Regions from separate parts of the Homo sapiens genome. Here regions 1, 3, 4 and 5 are each linked to region 2. The links are contacts of gene promoters, found by promoter capture Hi-C in human tissues and cell types (Jung and others, 2019). All regions are on one chromosome and are shown on one strand. Each heading gives the region's core, a stretch centred on a gene start or on the middle of the fragment in contact. The rest is flanking DNA. Distances are from core to core; before and after follow the strand shown. Region 1 overlaps ZNF516 (zinc finger protein 516). Region 2 holds the start of ZNF236 (zinc finger protein 236). Region 3 has its middle 41 kb from the start of GALR1. Region 4 overlaps ZNF516 (zinc finger protein 516). Region 5 overlaps GALR1 (galanin receptor 1).

The links. The method cuts DNA at HindIII sites, captures the fragments that hold promoters and counts their contacts. A contact is called where the count stands out against the background at its distance.
Region 1: a fragment that was not itself captured here is called in contact with the fragment with the promoter of ZNF236 in region 2 in 1 of the 25 tissues and cell types used here (mesendoderm cells).
Region 3: a contact is called between a fragment that was not itself captured here and the fragment with the promoter of ZNF236 in region 2, in 2 of the 25 tissues and cell types used here (lymphoblastoid cells and spleen).
Region 4: a contact is called between a fragment that was not itself captured here and the fragment with the promoter of ZNF236 in region 2, in 1 of the 25 tissues and cell types used here (lymphoblastoid cells).
Region 5: a contact is called between a fragment that was not itself captured here and the fragment with the promoter of ZNF236 in region 2, in 2 of the 25 tissues and cell types used here (aorta and stomach).

The regions. Positions count from the first base shown.
Region 1 is chr18:76,466,517-76,469,216 of GRCh38, forward strand. The region is part of intron 1 of ZNF516 (zinc finger protein 516); the gene reads right to left. Among named protein-coding and RNA genes, the nearest start is that of ZNF516-AS1, 24 kb to the right of the region's middle. The HindIII fragment of the contact is 9,098 bases long and covers 1-2,700 here.
Region 2 is chr18:76,821,218-76,823,917 of GRCh38, forward strand. ZNF236 (zinc finger protein 236) reads left to right here and starts at 1,340. Exons shown (of 31, transcript NM_001306089.2): 1 at 1,340-1,445. The coding sequence starts at 1,391. It overlaps ZNF236-DT (ZNF236 divergent transcript), which reads right to left and starts at 1,078. Exons shown (of 3, transcript NR_040024.1): 1 at 799-1,078. RefSeq lists enhancers at 622-701, 742-851 and silencers at 922-1,111, 1,232-1,971. The HindIII fragment of the contact is 16,105 bases long and covers 1-2,700 here.
Region 3 is chr18:77,207,784-77,210,483 of GRCh38, forward strand. No RefSeq gene overlaps it. Among named protein-coding and RNA genes, the nearest start is that of GALR1, 41 kb to the right of the region's middle. RefSeq lists an enhancer at 1,543-1,602. The HindIII fragment of the contact is 8,646 bases long and covers 1-2,700 here.
Region 4 is chr18:76,484,833-76,487,532 of GRCh38, forward strand. All of the region lies in intron 1 of ZNF516 (zinc finger protein 516), which reads right to left. Among named protein-coding and RNA genes, the nearest start is that of ZNF516-AS1, 5.5 kb to the right of the region's middle. The HindIII fragment of the contact is 4,856 bases long and covers 1-2,700 here.
Region 5 is chr18:77,264,950-77,267,771 of GRCh38, forward strand. All of the region lies in intron 2 of GALR1 (galanin receptor 1), which reads left to right. Among named protein-coding and RNA genes, the nearest start is that of GALR1, 17 kb to the left of the region's middle. The HindIII fragment of the contact is 3,933 bases long and covers 1-2,822 here.

The DNA.
Region 1 (2,700 bases), core at 171-2,670, 350 kb before region 2:
GGACACCAAAGAGGCTACTTGGCTGGCACGGCCGGACCCAAGTGCTCTATGCAGGTGCCGGGGCCGCGCATCTCCAGGAGATCTAGTCAAGGAGAAAGGCACTCTGTGGACAGGCTCTCTAGACAGCGTGGCACACAGGACGCAGTGGTGCCTGCCTGCCAAGCCTGGGATGGGTGTGAGGCAAGACACCCAGTGGGGACACGTGCCTACAGTGGGGGCTGGAAAAGTAGAGAAGGGACCCTGGACATGCACAGGGGCCACGAGGGCCATCCCTGCTGGGACACGCACAGCTGATGCAACAGGAGACAGGATGACACAGAAGTCCCTCCACCAGGGTATCACCAGGACCTGGAGTCTATGGTGGTGATGCCACGGGCGGTGAACGTGGGGAGCAAACATGGGAAGGGATGCCCTGGGGCAGGACCCTGGTTCTGCAGCCTCACAGGGAAGGACCACCCAGAGGTGCAGGCAAAGGGCCCTGGGAGGCAGGGGGGCCCCAGAGAGGCAAAACCCAGGAGACGCTGGCCTCTGGGAAGTAAAATCAGGCAGAGGCAGCCGTGGCCTCGCTGAACCTGCAGCTGACAGCCCCTCTGGGCTGGCAGGAAGTCCTGCGTGTCTCTCGGAACCTGCAGCTCACAGCCCTTCTGGGTTGGCAGGAAGTCCTGCGTGTCTCTCGGAACCTGCAGCTCACAGCCCCTCTGGGCTGGCAGGAAGTCCTGCGTGTCTCTCGGAACCTGCAGCTGACAGCCCCTCTGGGTTGGCAGGAAGTCCTGCGTGTCTCTCGGAACCTGCAGCTGACAGCCCCTCTGGGTTGGCAGGAAGTCCTGCGTGTCTCTCGGAACCTGCAGCTCACAGCCCCTCTGGGCTGGCAGGAAGTCCTGCGTGTCTCTTGTCCCAGAGAGGAAATGATTTGGGCAAACGCTCTGCCCTGAGATCTCTCTCGCCCTAACTAGATATTAAGCACACCTCGGGGGCAGTGCTGGAATTACAGCATCCACAGGTGCTGGGCTTTCCTGGAGGCTGCAAGTAAGTGCTCAGTCAAGGAGGGGACAAGGCTTCGGAGGCTGGTGGTGGGGAGGTCCAAACCAGAGGGGAGTCCCTGCTGCTCCTTCCTAACTGGGATCTTGAGAAAGACAACAGCCCCAGCCCACTCAAAGGCTACACCTCAAAAACATGTTGCAATCTACATGGGCTGCCTCATTTTCAAAGCAGAAGTTTAGCAATTTCCTGCATTTGCAGGCATGTTCAAACTGTAAGCCCGTTCGATTCCTGAGTTATTTTTACCAAATAAATTCAAGTCCAGTTATCGAATAACTACATGCATCCCATCCCGCTCAGGGCAGCTACATATAAGTAATAAACGAAGGACAGAAATGAGTGCTTCAACTATCTGCTGACTGCTAACTCCCACTGTCATCCCAGGCAGCCTTGCAAGCAAAGAGTAGCTGCGGCGCATTCCAGACCTCCCTACGGACAGCACGCGACGGACGGCCTTGCGGGACTCCCTGCAGCAGCCAACACACCCCAGCCAGCCCGTGCCTATTCTGTGAACTGACCACTTCAGGCCACTCAAGGCATCCCAGGAGATTCTCTGGCTCTGATGGATCAAAAAGGTTCAGAAATAGAGAACTTCTGCTCTCTATGTATACAGAAATGTGTTTTTTATGTTTATCTGAAATTAGAGATATCAAAATTAGGATTGGCAGTGTCCTACAATACTTGTGATTTGGAGCAGCCCCGTGCTCTTTTAGTAAGAAAAACAATCACACTCGCTCTCTGGACAATTTAAAGTCCAAGCTTGTCCAACCCGCGGCAGCCCAACACAAATTCATAACCTTTCTTAAACATTATGAGGTTTTTTGCTGTTTTTTGTTTTTTGTTTTAGGCTCATCATTAGTGTCTTTTTTTTTTTTTTTTTTTGAGACAGGGTCTCACTGTCGCCCAGGCTGGAGTGCAGTGGTGCAACCTTGGCTCACTGCAACCTCGGCCTTCCGGGCTCAAGCGATCCTCCCACCTTGGCCTCCCTAGTAGCTGGGACTACAGGTGTGCACCACCACACTCAGCTAATTTTTTTTCTATTTTTTGTAGAGACGAGGTTTCGCCATGTCAGCCAGGCTGGTCTCAAACTCCTGAGCTCAAGTGATCTACCCACCTCGGCCTCCCAAAGTGTTGTGATTACAGGTATGAGCCAACGCGCCCGGCCGTGTTAGCATCTTTTATGTGTAGTCCAAGACAGTTCCTCTTCTTCCAATGTGGCCGAGGGAAGCCAAAAAATTGACACCCCTGAAAACTGTCACTTGAGAAGAGTAACTTAAAATGCTGAGCCATCTTCCCCATCAGTTCCTTGTTTAGTCCTCAAAGAGTGTTTGTTGCCAGGACTTTATTTATCACTCCATTGTATATTATATGTCCTTCAACAATGGAAGGTCCTGAACCACTAAACCACACTGCTACAAAGAAGCACTTGGGGAGAGCCTCCAGGTCTGAAGAGTTCTAATGTCTCCAACTTCCCAGCCCGATTTTAAAGGCATTTAATGTTCATTCTTGAATAGTTTTGGATTTTGTAATGAAGTCATGATGTTTCTACATGTTTAGCTCTGTACGCCTGAATATAAATAACCGAGGTAGTCAAATCAGGGTGTGCGAATGTTCCCTTTACTGGAAGAAAGTTTTTGCCTTCTCCCAGCAAAATATAAAATT
Region 2 (2,700 bases), core at 90-2,589:
CTTAAAATATTTATCAATATATAGATGAATTCCAACATAATTATGCTCAATGAACAGCCCCCACTTCCCTAAAGATTACGTGCGATACAATTCCATTTATATAAAACACCAAGAAAAACAGGTTGGGCACAGTGGCTCACATCTGCAATCCCAACACTTTGGGAGGCTGAGGCAGAGGGTCAATTGAAGCTAGGAGTTCCAGAGCAGGCTGGGCAACACAGAGAGACCCCATATGTTTAAAAAAAAACAAAAAGCTAGACATGGCGGTCCTCACCTGCAGTCTCAGCTACTCGGGAGGCTGAAGCAGTTGGATTGCTTAAGGGCAGGAGTTTGAGGCTACAGTGGGTCCCGATCGTGTCACTGCACTCCCGCCTGGGTGACAGAGCAAGCGAGACCCAGTCTGTATAAAAAGATATTTAAAAACTCCAGGAAATTCAAACTATAGTGACAAAAAGCAGATGGGTGGGAGGGGGAGGAGGGAAGGAGGGAGAGAGGAAAGGGTTACAGAGAGACGGGAGGAACATCTTCACTGTTGATTGTGATGATGGTTTCACAGTGTATACATGTGTCAAGATGTATCAAACTGCACACTTTAATTTGCGCCACTGCACTCCAGCCCAGGTGACAGAGTAAGGTCGCTTTCCCCGGGCTCGGCCGGCCTCTCCACCCGGCGCTCGGGTGCTGCGCTGCCTGTTCCTGTTGCCACTTCGTGTAAGTTAGCGCAGGCAACAACACACAAGACCAGCACACGTGAAATGGTCCATTTTAATGCACTGCCCCCAGGGAAAGGAACATTACCGGCTTCTGGCCATGTCGTCTTCCCAGTCCCAGATGGCGGTTCCGGGTTTGGGCTCCGAGGCCCTTCGCAGCACTAGGGCGGCGCGAGTAGGGCCGCCCTCCGAGCCATGCTGCGGTCCGAGGTGACGCGCGCACGCGAGTTCGCGGACACGCACGAGACGCCCGGGCCACGGAGGCGCGGGGCTGGCCCAGGGTCCCCGCCAGGCCGAGCTCTAGGGCTGCCGGCCCGGCCCGGTGACCCCCGCGCTCCCCTCCGTCCGCTAAGGCCCCGCGGCGCCGCGCATGCGCCCCGCCGCCGCCCCCGCCCCCACCGCGCCCGCGCCCGCGCCCAACGCCCCCACCGCGGCCCGCGGGCCATGGAACCTGCCAAGGCCGGCGCGGTTCGAGCGCTCCGGTGCGCGCGTTCAGGCGCCTTTCCCCCGTGAGCCCGGCGGCGCTCGGACCGGGCCGCCCGCCGCCGGGCAGCTCCGCCCGCCTCTAGCGCCGGCTGGGCGCGCCCCCGCCCCGGTGCCCGCGCGTGCGCGCCCCCGCCGCCGCGTGTGAGTGTGAGTGTGAGTGTGAGTGGGTGTGGGTGCGAGCCGGGCCGCCGACGATGCCGCGGGGCCGCCCCCCGAAGCCCAGGGAGAGCAAGGCGCGCGGCGACTCCGGTAAGGCCCGCGGCCGCGCCCTCGCGCCCCGCCGGCGGCCGGTGCGGGGCCCGCGCCCTGCCAGTCCCCGGATGCGGCGCGGGGGGCGCCGGGAGCGGCGGGGCGGGGGCGGGGGCCGCGCAGACCCGGGCCGCCGCCGCCGCCGACTGGCCGGGCGGGCCGCAGCGCGGGCGGAATGATACGGGCGAGTCGCCGCCCGGCCCCTCCGCGCGCTGGGCCTACTTTCCTGGGCCGGGCGGCGGCTGAGGCGGGAGGCGGGAGGCGGGTGAGGGAGCAGGCGGCCGCCTCCTGCGCGCGCCCTGCCCCCGCTGGCCCTGCCGCGGCCCGCGCTGAACTTGAGGGAAAGTGGCCGCCCCGTGTTCCGTCCCGGGGCCGGAGGGCCGCGGGGCGCGCTGGGGAGGCGGCCTGGCCAGAGCCCGGGCCTGCGGATACCGCGCCCCGGGCTCCTCCCGGACGGCGCCCCCGCCCGACCCTGCGCGGCGCCGGCTGCCCCGGGGACGTTGGGCTCGGCCCACAGGGAGGCCGTGGAGCGCGGGGTCGTGCACACAGTAGGCGCCAGCGTTGTCCGGGAAGCGCAGGGTCGTGCACACAGTGTGCTCCAGTGTTATCTGGGGCGCGCTGTGGGGCGTGCATACAGTAGGCGCCATTGTGATCCGGGAACTTGAACCCTGAGCCTCTGCAGACGCTGTGGGTAGTGCATACAGTAGGCGCCATTGTGATCCGGGGGGCTGGAACCCTGGGCATCTGGAGAGCGCTGTGGGTCGTGCAAACAGTAGGCACCATTGTGATCCGGGTAGCTTGAACCTGGAGCTTCTGGAGAGCGCTGTGGGTCGTGCATACAGTAGGCATCAGTGTTATGTGGGGAGCGCTAGATCGTGCACACAGTAGGCGTCAGGAAGTGTTTTCCCCAGTAATTTATTCTCCATGGTACTTTGCTAAAGTCATGAAATAACTCAGATTTTGTTTTCCAAGGAAGGAGAAAGGCCCAGAATTTAAGAGCAGGCAGACACACAACCGGGCACCCCCAGACCCTGGCCCTTCCAGCAGTCAGGAATTGACTTGCCTTCCAAAGCCCCAGCCCGGAGCTTGAGGAACGGACTTTCCTGCGCAGGGGGATCGGGGCGCACTCGCCGGTGCCGCGGTTCCCAGGTCGAGGGCAGTGGGGTAGGGGGCGCCGCGCTTTTTCTCGCGGGCGCCGTGGTTCCCGTGCGGCCTTGGACGCGAGTCTCCCCCTGCAGGCCTGGTCCCTGGTCCT
Region 3 (2,700 bases), core at 71-2,570, 390 kb after region 2:
AGGCTTTGTGAGGTCAGGACCACGCTGGCTGAGTGCCCAGGGTGCTCCAGGGTCGGGGCACGTGCTCAGACACATGCAGAGAACGACTGAAAGTTGAAAGGGGTTCAGTTAACTCCAAGTCCACGCATTCAGCAGATTATGTCCCACGAGAAACACACCAGAGAGATGCCGACCAAAGACAGCCCTTGCTTCTGCAGTCACTAGTGTTTATTATTATTATTATTTTTAGAAAGAGACGGGGTTTCAGTATGTTGCCCAGGCTGGTCTTGAACTCCTGGGCTCAAGTGATCCTCCCATTTTGGCCTCCCAAAGTGCTGGGATTCCAGGCGTGAGCCACTGTGCCCGGAGGCTGGTTGTTTTTAATGTCCTTACTGAAGTATAAAAACACTGTTTAGTGTTTCTTTATTTTGTTTTTCCTGGCTTTCCTGTACTTGAACTTTTTTTTTTTTTAAGAATTCCATTTTGATTTATCTAGTGTTTTGGGGTTTATCCTTTTTTATAGTTTTTAAAAATGGTAGCTGTAGGTACTTCATTATTTATACACATCCTACATGGTCTAGTGGTGCTAGATTTTGTTAGTTCTAATACAATATGGTCACCTAAACTCTCGTTTCATACTTTCCCTCCCCCATATTATATTATAGTTTACAATATTATGTTATAGTTTATAATATGACTATCATCTTTAATACTTTCTTTACATACATTGAGAACATCAGACAGCATTATCATTTTTGCTTCCAACCATGGAACATAATTTAGAAAACTCAAGAGGAGAAGGAGTCTATTTATTTACCCATATTTTTTACTTTTGCTGTTGTTCTCACTTTCTTCCCAATATTCCAATATTGCTTCTTTTATAATTTCCCTTCTGTTTAGGAAACTTCCTCGAGCCATGCTTTGAGTAACCCTGCTGATGGCAGATTCTCTTAGTGCTCCTTCACTGGAGAATATCTCTATTTATACCCGTCCATGAGGGACATTTTCCCTGCCATAGACTTTTGGTTGACTGGCCTTTTCTCTTGGTATTTGAGACGCTTGCTACTTCCTTTTGGGTTCCATGGTTTCAAACGGAAAATTTGCACGTCCTACAAGCAATGTGTTTCTCTCTGGCTACTTTGCAGCTATTTTTCTTTGTCTTTAGTTTTTCAGACCTTTGATTATGATGTATCTTGGTATAAATTTCTTTGGGTTTACCACATTTGGAATTTTCTCAGATCCTTGAATCTTTAGTATATTTCACTAAACTTGGGAAGTTTACAGCCATTTAAAAAATATACCTTCCAGTTTCACTTTCTCTTTCCTCTGAGGATGACACAGGCTCCTGAGAGTCTGTTCTTTCTCCTCAGCCCACTTCCTCAATGCTGCTCTGAGTTGGTGACTTCTGGCCCTCGTCCAGTCTTTTGTCCTCTCGCTGTCCTGGTTGAGTCCACGCATTGAGGTTTTAGGTTTGTTTGTCTTTTGGTTATTGTGTTTTCTTGCTTTATAATTTCTTTTTTTTTTTTTCAGACCGAGTCTCACTCTGTCACCCAGCTGGAGTGAGGTGGCATGATCTCTGCTCACTGCAACCTCTGGCTCCTGGGTTCAAGTGATTCTCCTCTCTCAGCCTCTCGAGTAGCTGGGACTACAAGTGCCCACCATCGTGCCAGGCTAATTTTTGTATTTTTAGTTGAGGTGGGGTTTCACCATGTTGGTCAGGCTGGTCTCGACCTCCTGACCTCAGGTGATCCACCTGCCTTGGCCTCCCAAAGTGCTGGGATTACAGGCGTAAGCCACCATGCCCGGCCTCCTTTGGTTCTTCTTTATTCTTTTGCTAAAATTGTCTAATTTTCCATTTATTCCACGGGAATTCATACATGCTGAAGTGTATTTATGATGGTTATGTGAAGATCCTGCTCAGCTAATGATAGCCTCTGACTCATCTCCGTGTTGTCATCCATCGGTTTATTTCTCCTTCCAGTTGTGATTATCCTAGTTCTTGGTATGCTGAGTGACTTTGGATCGGAGCCCGTACATTTAGGATATCTTATGAGACTCCCGAGCTGCTGGCGTCTTCGTCTGCAGCAGGTGCTGTCCGCTGGGCTGGGTACACGTGGCACTACAGCCGCAGCAGAGCCCTGACCGTGCTGGGTGGCTGCAGGCAGGTGGGGTGATGATAACCTTCCCCTGGCCCTTCTAGTATCTTCAGGTGGATGTGGGGCTTCGGCTACACTCAGCTTCCTTGGGCCCTGCTGACCCCAGGGAGGCTGTGGGGAAGCCGGTGCCACGGCCTGCCTCCCACTGCCAGCTTTAGCCTCAGTGATGCTACACAGGGAGGGGGCTCCCTCCTCAGCCCGGTTGATACTGAGGGGAAAAAGTGGACTCAACCTGCCCCCTACCCCTTATCCTTTCTTATGGTGAGGGGCTTGCCAGGGAGGGCACAGGGCAGTGAGCAGCCCCATGTCACACTGCTTTGCTCAGGGTTGTTGCTGCCGGGTGGGGTGGAGTGGGGCTCAGCTCCACAACGGACCCACTGACATTGCCCTGGATAGGTCAGGGTGCTGCCTGCTTGTGCAGGGGGTGGGATGGAGCCAACTGATGCTCAGCGCAGCCCGAGGCCCTGGCAGGAGTGGGGGTGGGGAGGTGGAAGGTCCAGCCCTCATCGGCCCTGCTAAGAGCCTGGGGATGGGCCATGTGTGTGTCTCATGAGTCTTGCTGCAG
Region 4 (2,700 bases), core at 33-2,532, 340 kb before region 2:
AGCCCATAATCTTTCATCAACCTAGAAAATAACTGATAAGCCAATCTTCCTGTGAAACCATTAACAGATTCTGCTTTTCTGTCACCAGGGTAATTTACCGAGGCTAATTTTAATCCTACCACTAAACCACTAATCGCATGACTCTACAGAATTGTCCCCAAGTTTACGTTGCTACGGCAAGCACTTTTACATTAGGAATTCACTTATTTATTAACACTTTTATTTTTTAAGTTGGTTTTAGGAATGAGATCGTCTTGCTTGCCTCTCATTTTAAAAAGTAAAAAGCCATTTTTGAAAAAAGGAAGCTACTTGAGCACCTGGGGTTGCACTGCACTCAACACAATAACGTTAATTTAAATTATGCTTGGTGTTACTCAAAGGGACAAATTATCATCATTATGCTAATGGTCATGCTAAAGACATGAAAAGCTTTGAAATGATTAATCTAAATCTGGGGGGAATATGATTATCAATGTGAATGATGGTATTTTCTCAAACTGGCATAAAAATGTTCTGTCTGTGTCACTGATAATGTCAATATAAATGATGCATCACCAAAGGCAACGTGCACTCACACGCTCTTCGCTCACGTTCTCGAAGCAAAGCCCCAGCCCACCTTTCAGTCCACATATGCCTTGCTTTGGGGACACACGTGTGGATGAATAGAAATTTGTTTACTTCTTTCGTAAAACAGAGAAAACAGGATGATTAAAGCCAACAAGACTGAGACAACGAGAGAGAGGTGTCTGGAGACACATTTGCTTTGGTGTCGACTCGACAGCCATACAGAATGTTAAAAATGGAGGTGGAATCTTCTGTGGGGTTCCATACTAATAAATTCCTGCAACATGGCATAAGAGCCACCCTGTGAATTCAACACAGGTCTACCCAAAAACCCAAACCAGCATGTGTAAACAAAACACAGCCTAAGTGAAAACATCTCAGTTCTGCCTGTAGATAATTCCAGGGCCGCACCACAGAAGCTCAGGGGAACTATTAAATAGGATTGTCCATTTGTTCATTAACTCATTTCTTTAAAAAAAAAAAAAAAAGATGGGGACAAAAGCTGAGTCTTTTTGACAAAAATAATAATAATAATAAACATACTTTTTTGCTCTAGGTTAAAATCACCAGAATAATCAGGAACTAAACAGTGAATCTTCTCTTTCTGACCTGCCCAACTCTTAGCCTTATTTGTGACCCCCAGAAGTCTTAACTACTTATATTCAAGTCTGTGTTTTCCTGAATTAACAGTCACTCAGCATTGAATGGCAAACTATTTCTCACAAAAATTGTATCGGTGGAAAAAAAGTGAAACTTGTTCACTACACCCTTAAGTATCAACTGAGAAAGAATCTGCTAAAGCCACAAACGACCATTCTGTACAACTTTCAATGCATCATTTACTGTACTAAATTTCAAAGAACATTCTCGAATGCTAAAATAAATCAATGCCCAAACACAGTGTCTTGTCAGCTCATGCAATATAGGTTAAATAGTACCATATGGCAAAGACAGACACATGTTGCCCTTTTCTGAAACAAAAAAATTCCTAAACAAATGTCCTTTACTTTCACATGGGAAGAGTGGGGGATTAGAGAGTTCTTCAAGTGTTAATAGCGCTGAAAAATTTTTAATTCTTAGCCATTAACAAGAAATTATAGTTTTAATAGAGAACCTTGATTTTTTAAGCCTGTCTTTAACTGTGTCCTGAAAACTAACACCACATCTTCCTCTACGCACACCATCTCCTAAAAAAGCAAGAAAATAACAGGACAGCTGTATCCTGGAGGCTGAGCCAGCACCAGCAACTCCCCAGGGCGGTGAGAGACGTTGTCTACCTGGTTTTGAAGGAAAAAAAAAAAAAAACACCAGATTCCCTCTGCCTTGAAGATAACAAAACACACTAAGATTTCATCCCATTTTCACCACTCAGTTGAGGAACTGTCTGGATTTCACAATTACATACGATATACATCTCTTCTCGGCCCAGTAAATTCTGAGATTCTATAGACTTTACTTACTTCCTGACCAAGGTTCGGGGGGAAGGTACAGAAACAGGAATACGAAGTAAATCTACCAGAATTAACACAGAGTTAAAATACAGTATATGGTAAGATGTATCTAAACCTACTATAGTTGTCTTTTAAATAATTTTTCCTACTCTCCTGCTTGTGTTTTAGTCATCACTTAACATATATTTACATGTTTGCTTTCTAAAAATAGTTGCATTTCTAATTACTCCTGCTTTGTAATTTTCAGTACCATTTGAATTAAAGATTAAATGCCAGATCTTTTTTGGAAATGACTTTTAAGGCATGTTGAGAGCCACAAATTACACTGCTTTACAATTCGAATGTATACCATCGGAAAACATCTCAGGCTAGACATAAATACGATGATGGCTCTAGCTTTGGAAAGAGAAGCTTCAGCTGTTCAAGTCACGTGTGGCCAGATGCAGAGCATAAGGAATGCAAAACAGACAGTTGCAACTGCTGGTTTTTACCAGTCCATCTAAAATACACTTCGTACACTGTAGTGGATGCTAGAAATTTCAAATACAAATGATGCATTTATAGCCCCTATAAATATATCCTTCCTTATAGCTATTTAAGTCATTCCCCTAAAATATTCTTCAGTTAGAAAAATTAATTTTAAAATAAAGATACTTTTTAAAGAACAGGAGACATTCTAAAGTCA
Region 5 (2,822 bases), core at 172-2,671, 440 kb after region 2:
ACACAGAGCCAAACCATGTCTTACTGCTCCTGGCCCCTCCCAAATCTCATGTCCTCACATTTCAAAACACAATCATGCCCTTCCAGCATTCCCCCAAAATCTTAACTCATTCCAGCATTAACTCAACAGTCTGAGTTCAAAGTCTCATCTGAGACAAGGCAAGTCCCTTTTGCCTATAAGCCTTTACAATCAAAAGCACGTACCTATTATACTTCCTAGATACAATGGGAGTACAGGCATTGGGGAAATACAACCATTCCAAATAGGAGAAATTAGCCAAAACAAAGAGGCTACAGGCCCCATGCAAATCTGAAATCCAGTGGAGCAGCCAAATCTTAAAGCTCCAAAATGATCTCCTTGGACTCCATGTTTCACGTCCAGGTCACACTGATGCAAGAGGTGGGCTCCCATGGCCTTGGGTAGCTCCTCCCCTGTGGCTTTGCAGGGCATAGCCCCCTTCCGGGCTGCCTTCATGGCTGATGTTGAGTGTCTATGGCTTTTCCAGGTGCAGGGTGCAAGCTTTGGATGGATCTACCATTCTGGGGTCTGGAGGATGGTGGCCCTCTTCTCACAGATCCACTAGGTAATGCCCCAGTGGGGAGTCTGTGTGGGAGCTCTGACCCCACATTTCCATTCTGTACTGCCCCAGCAGAGGTTCTCCATAAGGACTCTGCCCCTGCAGTAGACTTCTGCCTGGGCATCCAAGCATTTCCATACATCCTCTGAAATCTAGATGGAGGTTCCCCAACCTCAATTCTTGACTTCCGTGCACCTGCAGGCCCAACCTCATGGGTAAGCTGCCAAGGCTTGGGGCTTACACCTGCTAAAGCGATGGCTTGAGCTATATGTTGGCCCCTATTAGCCACAGCTGGGACACAGGACACCAAACCCCAAGACTACACAAAGAAGCAAGGCCCTGGGCTTGGACATGAAACCACTTTTCCTCCTAGGCCTCTGGGTGTGTGATGGGAAAGGCTGCCATGAAGACCTCTGATGTGCCCTGGAAACATTTTCCCTATTGTCTTGGTGATTAACATTTGGCTTCTCATTATTTATGCAAATTTCTGCAGCCTGCTTGAATTTCTCCTCCAAAAATGCGTTTTTTTCTTTTCTATTGCATGATCAGGTTGCAAATTTTCCAAACGTTTATATGCTTTGCTTCCCTTATAAACGTAAGTTCCAATTCCAAACCATCTCTCTCAAGTTCAAAGTTCCACAGATCTCTAGGGCAAGGGCAAAATGCCACCAGTCTCTTTGCTAAAGCATAGCAAGAGTGACCTTTACTCCAGTTCCCAAGAAGTTTCTGATCTCCATCTGAGACTACCTTAGCCTGGACTTCATTGTCCATATCACTATCACCATTTTGGTCAAAGACATTCAACAGTTTCTAGGAAGTTCCAAAATTTCCCACATCTTCCTGTCTTCTCAGCACCCCCAAGGCTCTAGGAAGTTTCAAACTTTCCAACATTTTCCTGTCTTCTTCTGAGCCATCCAAACTGTTCCAGCCTCTGCCTATTACCCAGTTCCAAAGTTGCTTCGACATTTTTGAGTATCTTTACAGCAGTGCCCCACTCTCTGCAGTACCAATTTACCGTATTAGTCCATTCTCACACTGCTAAGAGACATACTCAAGACTGGGTAATTTATAAAGGAAAGAAGTTTAACTGACTCACAGTTACACAGGGATGGGGAGGCCTCAGGACACTTACAATCATAGCAGAAAGGGAAGCAAACATGTCCTTCTTCACATGGCAGCAGGAAGGAGAAGAATGAGAGTGAAGGGTCGGGGGAAACCCCTTATAAAACCATCAGATCTCCTGAGAACTCACTGTCACGAGAACAGCATGAAGGTAACTGCCCCCATGATTCAATTACCTCTCACTGGGTCCCTCCCATTATGTGTGGAGATTATGGGAATGACAATTCAAGATGAGAGCTGGGTGGGGTCACAGCCAAACCATATCAGTGGGATTGCTGCCAGCTCACGCTCTGATGCTTCCCCTCCCAATGTCCAAGCATGCTCTAAAATATTACAGCCTGGACTATGTCTGAGAGAAAGAAGTTACTTGAGTCCTAACCTTTGGCCAAGAGGCTGAAAGGTGCACCTCTTTGCGCTTAATGTTCCTTTTTTCCTATGAGAAGTAAACTTGCTGGTGAAGTGAACAGAAAGCTGAAGCCATCGAACAGAGGAGGCTGGGGAAGCACTCTGTCCCTTCACGCCAGGGAACTGAGATGGAGGTTTTCTTATGGCAGCCTTTATTGCCCACACAGCTAGCATAATGCTTCTTGAGAAGCAGCCCTGTTGGGTGCAGAGAGGGAAGTGTGGCTTTTGATGACCAGAATTTTCCCTGCAGCTCAGCTGCCCAGTGCATGGGCTGGGGAGCATGTCGGCCTGGCTGCCAGCCCCACCTTTGCATTCAGCTGTGGGACACTGGGCATTTGCTCTTCCCCTCCTGAGTCTCAGTTTCCTCATCTACAACCTGTGGGTCATGACAGCATCTGCTTCATAGAGTCGTAAAGGACATTCGGTGAAATAATGCATGTGGTCCCATCATCGGTCCACTAGTTTCGATGGCTCTGTTGTGACCATCGCGGCACTAGAGGTTGTGTGTGGGTTTTGAGCTGCACTTGTTAGAGAACCATCTGTTTGAGGAGAGAACCAACTGATTGGTTTGTATTTTATAGTTTAAAAAATACTAGACTCCCGTAATTAAAGCATTTTAATAAATTGGATCATTGCCTTTTCTTTGAATCCAAAGACAGAGTTTTCAATTAATCACAAACTAAGCTATCTAGCTCTTGTCTTTCAACATGTGTGGAAC